Linked DNA regions of Homo sapiens: region 2 is linked to region 1. The links are contacts of gene promoters, found by promoter capture Hi-C in blood cells and fetal thymus (Javierre and others, 2016). All regions are on one chromosome and are shown on one strand. Each heading gives the region's core, a stretch centred on a gene start or on the middle of the fragment in contact. The rest is flanking DNA. Distances are from core to core; before and after follow the strand shown. Region 1 holds the start of PCDHB15 (protocadherin beta 15). Region 2 holds the start of PCDHGA3 (protocadherin gamma subfamily A, 3).

Region 1 (4,420 bases), core at 1,170-3,669:
TTACAGGCTCCTTGTTTTAGTAGAGATAGGGTTTCACCATGTTGGCCAAACTCAAACTGGCTCCTGAGGTCAGGAGTTTGGCTGGTCTCAAACTCCTGACCTCAGGTGATACACTCGCCTCTGCCTCCCAAAGTGTGGCATTACAGGTGTGAGCCACCTTGCCCGGCCATACGAGCATCTTTAGTGATTATTAGATTATCTCAAGATTTTAAAATCATAGCTCCCTTTTGTAGCGTCTATCTAGCCCACCTGATCTTTTTCTGGAAAATTCTCCCTGTCTTTGGCTGAAGTGTAATGTTGCAGCCACATTTATTTTATATGACCCACCTCCCTCTGTGATTTCAAACACAAAAATAAGATGATCCTAGCTGGCCTAATCTGATTCTCTCTGTTTAAAAAAAAATGGCTTTAAGAACCAGATACAACATAGTCTCTTTGTTAGGAACATAAGCAGAAAGTGGTGTCATATTTGGCTAAACACTTGCAAAGAAATACAGAACATCAATCTATTGAGAGACAAGAAAAAATAAGGTACCAAAAGAATGACCTTGTCATAGATTTTCCTGTTTTAGATTTTCCAGTCCCTCCCAAGTCTTTTTCCCTTAGGTTGCTGGAGACAAATTTGTGCTCTTTAATAAATTTCCCTCTAATTAAGAGATCTAAGTGAGGTTTTTGTTGTCAAAAGCATGTTTAGATATTCCTGCATTGTTGGTAAGTTAGACCTTTCTTCCTATTGGGTTTTTATTGTGGCTTTTCATATTAGTATGACAACATTTGGGATCAAGGAGGTTGTAAAATATTAGTAGTCTATAAGGGACATGCACTAGCTTTTGTCAGAATATACAATTTTGAGAAAAACTGAAGGATCTTTCCAATGGTACAGTCTTTGAAGTGTTTAATAGAAATTCTTAGAACATTTTATTATATAAGAGTTTTGAATATCGTAAGTGTCATAATAACATTACTGTAAAAAAAAAACCTTGACAATGAAAAATGTGTGTCTAAAAGAGACATAATCCTTATCTTTAGGGTCATCATAATCTTGTTATGTTCTTTCTTTCTGTCATATAATATATCCCTTGCTTATGGGTAGCTAAGTTGTTTTGCCACTTAATGAAATGACATTTTAGGTCATTCTGAGTTATTTCACATTACTATTTAAAGGGCATAGGAAATAGCTACCTTATGAACATGTTGTCTTTGTTTATCCATCTTATATAATGAACTTGAATCCCAGAAGAAGAGGGAATTTCTACAGTAGGAGGAGAACCTATCTGTCAGAATGTTTAAATTAATTGTGATTTATTAATGGATCCATTTAACAAATATTTATTGAGCACGTACCATGTGCCAGGGATTATTTTAGATATTGGGGATGCAGCAGTGAACAAAATGAAGTTCTAACATGTGAGGTTGAAACAGAAAGGAAACAACTAAATAAGTACATCTATACTACGTCAGATAATAAATACGAGAGAGACAAGGCAGGGCTGGGTACAGCAGCTCATGCCTATAACCCCAGCACTTTGGGAGGCTGAGGCAGGAGGATTGCTTGAGCTCGGAAATTTGAGACCAGCCCGGGCAACATAGCAAGACCTCATCTTTACAAATAATTAAAACATTAGCCAGGCATGGTGATGCGCAACTGTGGTCCCAGCTACAGTTGCTGAGGTGGGGGGATTGCTTGAGCCTGGGTAGTCAAGGCTGCAATGAGCAGTGATTGTGCCACTGCACTCCCTCCTGGACAACAGAGCAAGACCCCATCTCAAAAAAAAAAAAAGGAAAAATGAAAAGAAAAAAAAGAAAAAGCAAAGTAAGAGATATAGGAAGTGCCTTCATATGTATTTTTCCACAGTTTAAAATTTTCATAAAATCATAACTCTCTGACTTTATGTAGAAAGGATACCACACTGGAATTAACGTGTAGCTTTTTCTTGATGTAATCCAACCAATGGGAGCACAATTCTGGTACATAGGCTGTCTAGAATTTGAAAGAAATTAAAGAATTCATTTTGTTTTGCTGATAAATTTTTAAGAAATCACGTGGCTTTATGTTATTATTATTACAAGATGACTGATCACTATTATGTCTTCTTTCACTTCTCAATTTCCCTCAGAACACTACACCCAGACTACAGGCTCTGGAGGGTGGGGACCATGTCTGGGTTGTTTACTGATGTATTTCATAATTTGGCACATAGAGACCAATAATACTCCTTTAAATGAAGAAATTAATAATTACCATTGCGTGATATTGTGATTACATCATTTCCTCCCAATTTCCAAACTCCTAATAGAATAGAGAATAGATCAATTGTAGCAATTCGTTTCGAAGCAAAGACAACGCATGGTGGCGCTGCAGGCTAAGGCTTCAAAAAAAGGAAAAGGAAAAAGCCCATGAAATGCTACTAGCTACTTCAGACCTCTTTCAGCCTAAGAGGAAAGCCTGTTAGCAGAGCACGGACCAGTGTCTCCGGAGAATGCTATTCTCCTACATTTCCGAACAGGTTATCAACGCACAGATCGATCACTGCCTCTGTCCCATCGCTCCCTGAAGTAGCTCTGACTCCGGTTCCTTGAAAGGGGCGTGTACAGAAGTAAAGATGGAGCCTGCAGGGGAGCGCTTTCCCGAACAAAGGCAAGTCCTGATTCTCCTTCTTTTACTGGAAGTGACTCTGGCAGGCTGGGAACCCCGTCGCTATTCTGTGATGGAGGAAACAGAGAGAGGTTCTTTTGTAGCCAACCTGGCCAATGACCTAGGGCTGGGAGTGGGGGAGCTAGCCGAGCGGGGAGCCCGGGTAGTTTCTGAGGATAACGAACAAGGCTTGCAGCTTGATCTGCAGACCGGGCAGTTGATATTAAATGAGAAGCTGGACCGGGAGAAGCTGTGTGGCCCTACTGAGCCCTGTATAATGCATTTCCAAGTGTTACTGAAAAAACCTTTGGAAGTATTTCGAGCTGAACTACTAGTGACAGACATAAACGATCATTCTCCTGAGTTTCCTGAAAGAGAAATGACCCTGAAAATCCCAGAAACTAGCTCCCTTGGGACTGTGTTTCCTCTGAAAAAAGCTCGGGACTTGGACGTGGGCAGCAATAATGTTCAAAACTACAATATTTCTCCCAATTCTCATTTCCATGTTTCCACTCGCACCCGAGGGGATGGCAGGAAATACCCAGAGCTGGTGCTGGACACAGAACTGGATCGCGAGGAGCAGGCCGAGCTCAGATTAACCTTGACAGCGGTGGACGGTGGCTCTCCACCCCGATCTGGCACCGTCCAGATCCTCATCTTGGTCTTGGACGCCAATGACAATGCCCCGGAGTTTGTGCAGGCGCTCTACGAGGTGCAGGTCCCAGAGAACAGCCCAGTAGGCTCCCTAGTTGTCAAGGTCTCTGCTAGGGATTTAGACACTGGGACAAATGGAGAGATATCATACTCCCTTTATTACAGCTCTCAGGAGATAGACAAACCTTTTGAGCTAAGCAGCCTTTCAGGAGAAATTCGACTAATTAAAAAACTAGATTTTGAGACAATGTCTTCGTATGATCTAGATATAGAGGCATCTGATGGCGGGGGACTTTCTGGAAAATGCTCTGTCTCTGTTAAGGTGCTGGATGTTAACGATAACTTCCCGGAACTAAGTATTTCATCACTTACCAGCCCTATTCCCGAGAATTCTCCAGAGACAGAAGTGGCCCTGTTTAGGATTAGAGACCGAGACTCTGGGGAAAATGGAAAAATGATTTGCTCAATTCAGGATGATGTTCCTTTTAAGCTAAAACCTTCTGTTGAGAATTTCTACAGGCTGGTAACAGAAGGGGCGCTGGACAGAGAGACCAGAGCCGAGTACAACATCACCATCACCATCACAGACTTGGGGACTCCAAGGCTGAAAACCGAGCAGAGCATAACCGTGCTGGTGTCGGACGTCAATGACAACGCCCCCGCCTTCACCCAAACCTCCTACACCCTGTTCGTCCGCGAGAACAACAGCCCCGCCCTGCACATCGGCAGTGTCAGCGCCACAGACAGAGACTCGGGCACCAACGCCCAGGTCACCTACTCGCTGCTGCCGCCCCGGGACCCGCACCTGCCCCTCACCTCCCTGGTCTCCATTAACACGGACAACGGCCACCTGTTCGCTCTCCAGTCGCTGGACTACGAGGCCCTGCAGGCTTTCGAGTTCCGCGTGGGCGCCACAGACCGCGGCTTCCCGGCGCTGAGCAGCGAGGCGCTGGTGCGAGTGCTGGTGCTGGACGCCAACGACAACTCGCCCTTCGTGCTGTACCCGCTGCAGAACGGCTCCGCGCCCTGCACCGAGCTGGTGCCCCGGGCGGCCGAGCCGGGCTACCTGGTGACCAAGGTGGTGGCGGTGGACGGCGACTCGGGCCAGAACGCCTGGCTGTCGTACCAGCT
Region 2 (4,314 bases), core at 1,110-3,609, 100 kb after region 1:
CTTAAATCCCCAAACATATTGTCTGATGCCTAATTATGTGTTTGTTTAATGAATATTAAATAACAACAAATATCGAAACTAAGTTATCAGGTCACCAAGAACAAACTTAAAGAAATATAATGTATAAATATGGCTGATTTCTGTGTGTTTCTTTTCTTTTTTTCCTTGTCTCAGCTCTTAGAGAGTTAAGAGTATAGAGAGGGAAAGGTCAAAGAGGAGGTGGATATCTTATCAAATAACCCTGATAAATGTAGTAAGTATAAGAATAAACACATTATCAAGGTTCAGTGGTGGAAGAACAAGTGGTGGTCATGTCTTTTAATAGTTGTGTTGGTCCTTACGGCCAGTTCTTTGTTACTGTGTGTTTCTTAAACTGAACAATTCAAAAAAGTTAACTCCACTATGTTTGAAGCAATATTGGTGGCATTAAGGTTAGTGCATGGATTCCCAAGAAAGATAACTTGAGGTGACACTGTTTAACATATATCGATTCAATTATGTTCAATCAACACTAGTCCTCTTATCTCTGACAAGAAGGATTTCAGATCTTGGATAATTCAAAAATAATAATGTGTCTGAGAGGATGCAGTAAACGGTTAGGCCTCTTAGTGTCGCTGTTGACCACTCAAGAAGGAGAACGCAGCTGGAGAACTAGTCCACCATTTCCTTGCTCCTAAAATGCAAAGAACCAGCAAATCAGACTCAGAAGATCCGGGGCGGCTGCCAACCTCACCTCTTAGTCAACCAGCTGTTTGACCTGTGAATTAGGCCCGTAAAAGACTTCGTTTCTTGAGAAAATAAGATTGGAGTCCGTCGTAGGAAACTGGAACCGAATTCAGAGAAAGCGATTCACCGAAAAGGAAATGACCAATTGCCTGAGTTTCCGAAATGGCAGAGGACTGGCCCTGCTGTGCGCGCTCCTGGGGACGCTGTGCGAAACAGGATCCGGTCAGATCCGCTACTCGGTGTCTGAGGAGCTAGATAAAGGTTCCTTCGTGGGCAACATCGCTAACGACCTGGGGCTAGAGCCCCGGGAGCTGGCGGAGCGCGGAGTCCGCATCGTCTCCAGAGGTAGGACGCAGCTTTTCTCTCTGAATCCGCAAAGCGGCAGCTTGGTCACCGCGGAGAGGATAGACCGGGAGGAGCTCTGCGCTCAGATCCCGCTGTGTCTGGTAAAAATTAACATTCTGGTTGAGGATAAATTGAAAATTTTTGAAGTAGAAATAGAAATTAAAGATATTAATGATAATGCTCCTAATTTCCCAACAGAGGAATTGGAAATAAAAATTGGTGAACTAACGGTTCCTGGAACCCGATTTCCAATTAAAACTGCTTTTGACCCAGATGTAGGCATTAACTCCCTGCAGAACTACAAGCTTAGCCCCAATGACTACTTCTCTCTGGCTGTGAATAGCGTCTCTGAGGGGGCCAAGTATCCAGAGCTGGTGCTGGAGCGGGCCCTGGACCGTGAGAAAAAAGAAATTCACCAGCTTGTCCTGGTTGCCTCTGATGGTGGCGACCCTGTCCACTCTGGCAACTTGCACATCCAAGTGATAGTCCTGGATGCAAATGACAACCCACCAATGTTTACTCAGCCTGAGTACCGTGTGAGTGTTTGGGAGAACGTGCCTGTGGGTACCCGGCTGCTCACGGTGAATGCCACTGACCCTGACGAGGGATTCAATGCTCAAGTGTCTTATATTCTAGATAAAATGCCTGGGAAAATCGCTGAGATTTTCCATCTTAACTCAGTGAGTGGAGAAGTATCAATATTAAAAAGTCTAGATTATGAGGATGCCATGTTCTATGAAATTAAAATTGAAGCACAGGATGGACCAGGTCTTCTTTCAAGAGCCAAGATTCTAGTCACGGTTCTGGATGTGAATGACAATGCTCCAGAAATTACAATCACGTCTCTCACAAGCTCAGTCCCAGAAGAGGGCACCGTTGGAAGAGAAATTGCTCTTATCGACGTGCATGACCGAGATTCTGGGCAGAATGGGCAGGTTGAAGTTTTTGTCCTGGGAAATCTGCCATTTAAGTTAGAAAAATCAATAGATCAATATTACCGCTTAGTGACGGCCACATCCCTGGACCGCGAACAAATATCAGAATATAACATTAGTCTGAGAGCCTCAGATGGGGGAAGCCCGCCACTGTCCACAGAAACTCACATCACCCTGCATGTGATTGACATCAATGACAACCCACCCACCTTCCCTCATTTATCCTACTCCGCCTACATTCCAGAAAACAACCCCAGAGGAGCCTCCATCTTCTCAGTGACAGCCCAGGACCCAGATAGCAACAACAACGCCCGCATCACTTATGCATTGACCGAGGACACTCTCCAGGGGGCGCCCCTGTCCTCCTTCGTCTCTATCAACTCCAACACTGGCGTCCTATACGCGCTGAGATCCTTCGACTACGAGCAATTTAGAGACTTAAAGCTACTGGTGACAGCCAGCGACAGCGGGAACCCTCCACTCAGCAGCAACGTGTCGCTGAACCTGTTCGTGCTGGACCAGAACGACAACGCGCCCGAGATCCTGTACCCCGCCCTCCCCACAGACGGTTCCACTGGCGTGGAGCTGGCGCCTCGCTCCGCAGAGCCCGGCTACCTGGTGACCAAGGTGGTGGCGGTGGACAGAGACTCGGGCCAGAACGCCTGGCTGTCCTACCGCCTGCTCAAGGCCAGCGAGCCGGGACTCTTCTCGGTGGGTCTGCACACGGGCGAGGTGCGCACGGCGCGAGCCCTGCTGGACAGAGACGCGCTCAAGCAGAGCCTCGTGGTGGCCGTCCAGGACCACGGCCAGCCCCCTCTCTCCGCCACTGTCACGCTCACCGTGGCCGTGGCCGACAGGATCCCCGACATCCTGGCCGACCTGGGCAGCCTCGAGCCCTCCGCCAAACCCAACGATTCGGACCTCACTCTGTACCTGGTGGTGGCGGTGGCCGCGGTCTCCTGCGTCTTCCTGGCCTTCGTCATCGTGCTGCTGGCGCTCAGGCTGCGGCGCTGGCACAAGTCACGCCTGCTGCAGGCTTCGGGAGGCGGCTTGGCGAGTACGCCCGGCTCGCACTTTGTGGGCGCGGACGGGGTTCGGGCTTTCCTGCAGACCTATTCCCACGAGGTCTCCCTCACTGCGGACTCGCGGAAGAGCCACCTGATTTTCCCCCAGCCCAACTATGCGGACACGCTCATCAGCCAGGAGAGCTGTGAGAAAAGCGAGCCTCTTCTGATAACTCAGGATTTACTTGAAATGAAAGGAGATTCCAACCTACTTCAGGTGAGTTTATTTATTTCTTTGATTATTAAGAACAAATATGAGAATGTGGTTATTATAAAGCTTTAACACATATGTATTTGAGAAATAAAGCCATGAGGTTGTCATTAGTCCTTTGACTAAATATTTGTCCCCCTTTCTTTCTGGGCCTATAGTAGGACTGCACTCCCCGGTCTGGTTATGGTTGAGTGGGCTTAGGGAAAAAATAATACATCGTGAGTGAAAGTAAAGTGTCACTTCCTAGAGGAATCTGCCACTGTGAGAATTTTCAGATCTCTAAGTTACTATTTGAAATTGTGACTGCTCCTTCTACCTGGGTCCTTGAGTAACTATGATGAGAGAAACACAACACTGGTTTGTATACCTGTGATAAATAGGCCTTTTTCATTTTAAATCCCTGTGCTTTGGAGTTTGTCATTCCAACCTGTATAGCTTATCCTGATACATACAAGTAAAAATACATATGAATAAAAGATATTTTATGCCCATGAAATTAAATGATGTTTGACTCCTTCCAAGACAGGTGACACTCTTTTTTTCTTTCTCCTTCCTTCCTTCCTCTCTCTTTCCTCCTTCCTTCCTTCCTCTCTCTCTTTCCTCCTTCCTTCCTTCCTTCCTCTCTCTCTTTCCTCCTTCCTTCCTTCCTCTCTCTCTTTCCTCCTTCCTTCCTTCCTCTGTTTCTCTCTTTCTTTCTTTCTTTCTTTCTTTCTTTCTTTCTTTCTTTCTTGACAGGGTCTTACTCTGTCTGGAGTGCAGTGGCATGATCACGGCTCACTGCAGCCTTGACCTCGCAGACTCAAGTGATCCTCCCACCTCAGCCTCCCGAGTAGCTGGGACTACAGGCACGAGCCACCCTCCCAGCTAATTTGTTTTTGTTTTTGTAGAGATGGGGCAATTGCTATGTTTCCCAGGCTGGTCTGAAATTCCTGAGCTCAAGTGATCTGCCCACGTCAGCCTCCCAAAGTACTGCGATTAGAGGCATGAGCCACCATGCCTGGCCTGTTATTCTTTTCATCTCAATAACATAAAA

The links. The method cuts DNA at HindIII sites, captures the fragments that hold promoters and counts their contacts. A CHiCAGO score of 5 or more calls a contact.
Region 2: a contact is called between a fragment that was not itself captured here and the fragment with the promoter of PCDHB15 in region 1, in 1 of 17 cell types (M1 macrophages). The highest score is 5.6, in M1 macrophages.

The regions. Positions count from the first base shown.
Region 1 is chr5:141,242,976-141,247,395 of GRCh38, forward strand. PCDHB15 (protocadherin beta 15) reads left to right here and starts at 2,420. Exons shown (of 1, transcript NM_018935.4): 1 at 2,420-4,420. The coding sequence starts at 2,604. It also overlaps PCDHB@ and the pseudogene PCDHB19P. The HindIII fragment of the contact is 5,789 bases long and covers 1-4,420 here.
Region 2 is chr5:141,343,171-141,347,484 of GRCh38, forward strand. The region is part of intron 1 of PCDHGA1 (protocadherin gamma subfamily A, 1); the gene reads left to right. All of the region lies in intron 1 of PCDHGA2 (protocadherin gamma subfamily A, 2), which reads left to right. PCDHGA3 (protocadherin gamma subfamily A, 3) reads left to right here and starts at 659. Exons shown (of 4, transcript NM_018916.4): 1 at 659-3,287. The coding sequence starts at 864. It also overlaps PCDHG@. The HindIII fragment of the contact is 1,971 bases long and covers 1,375-3,345 here.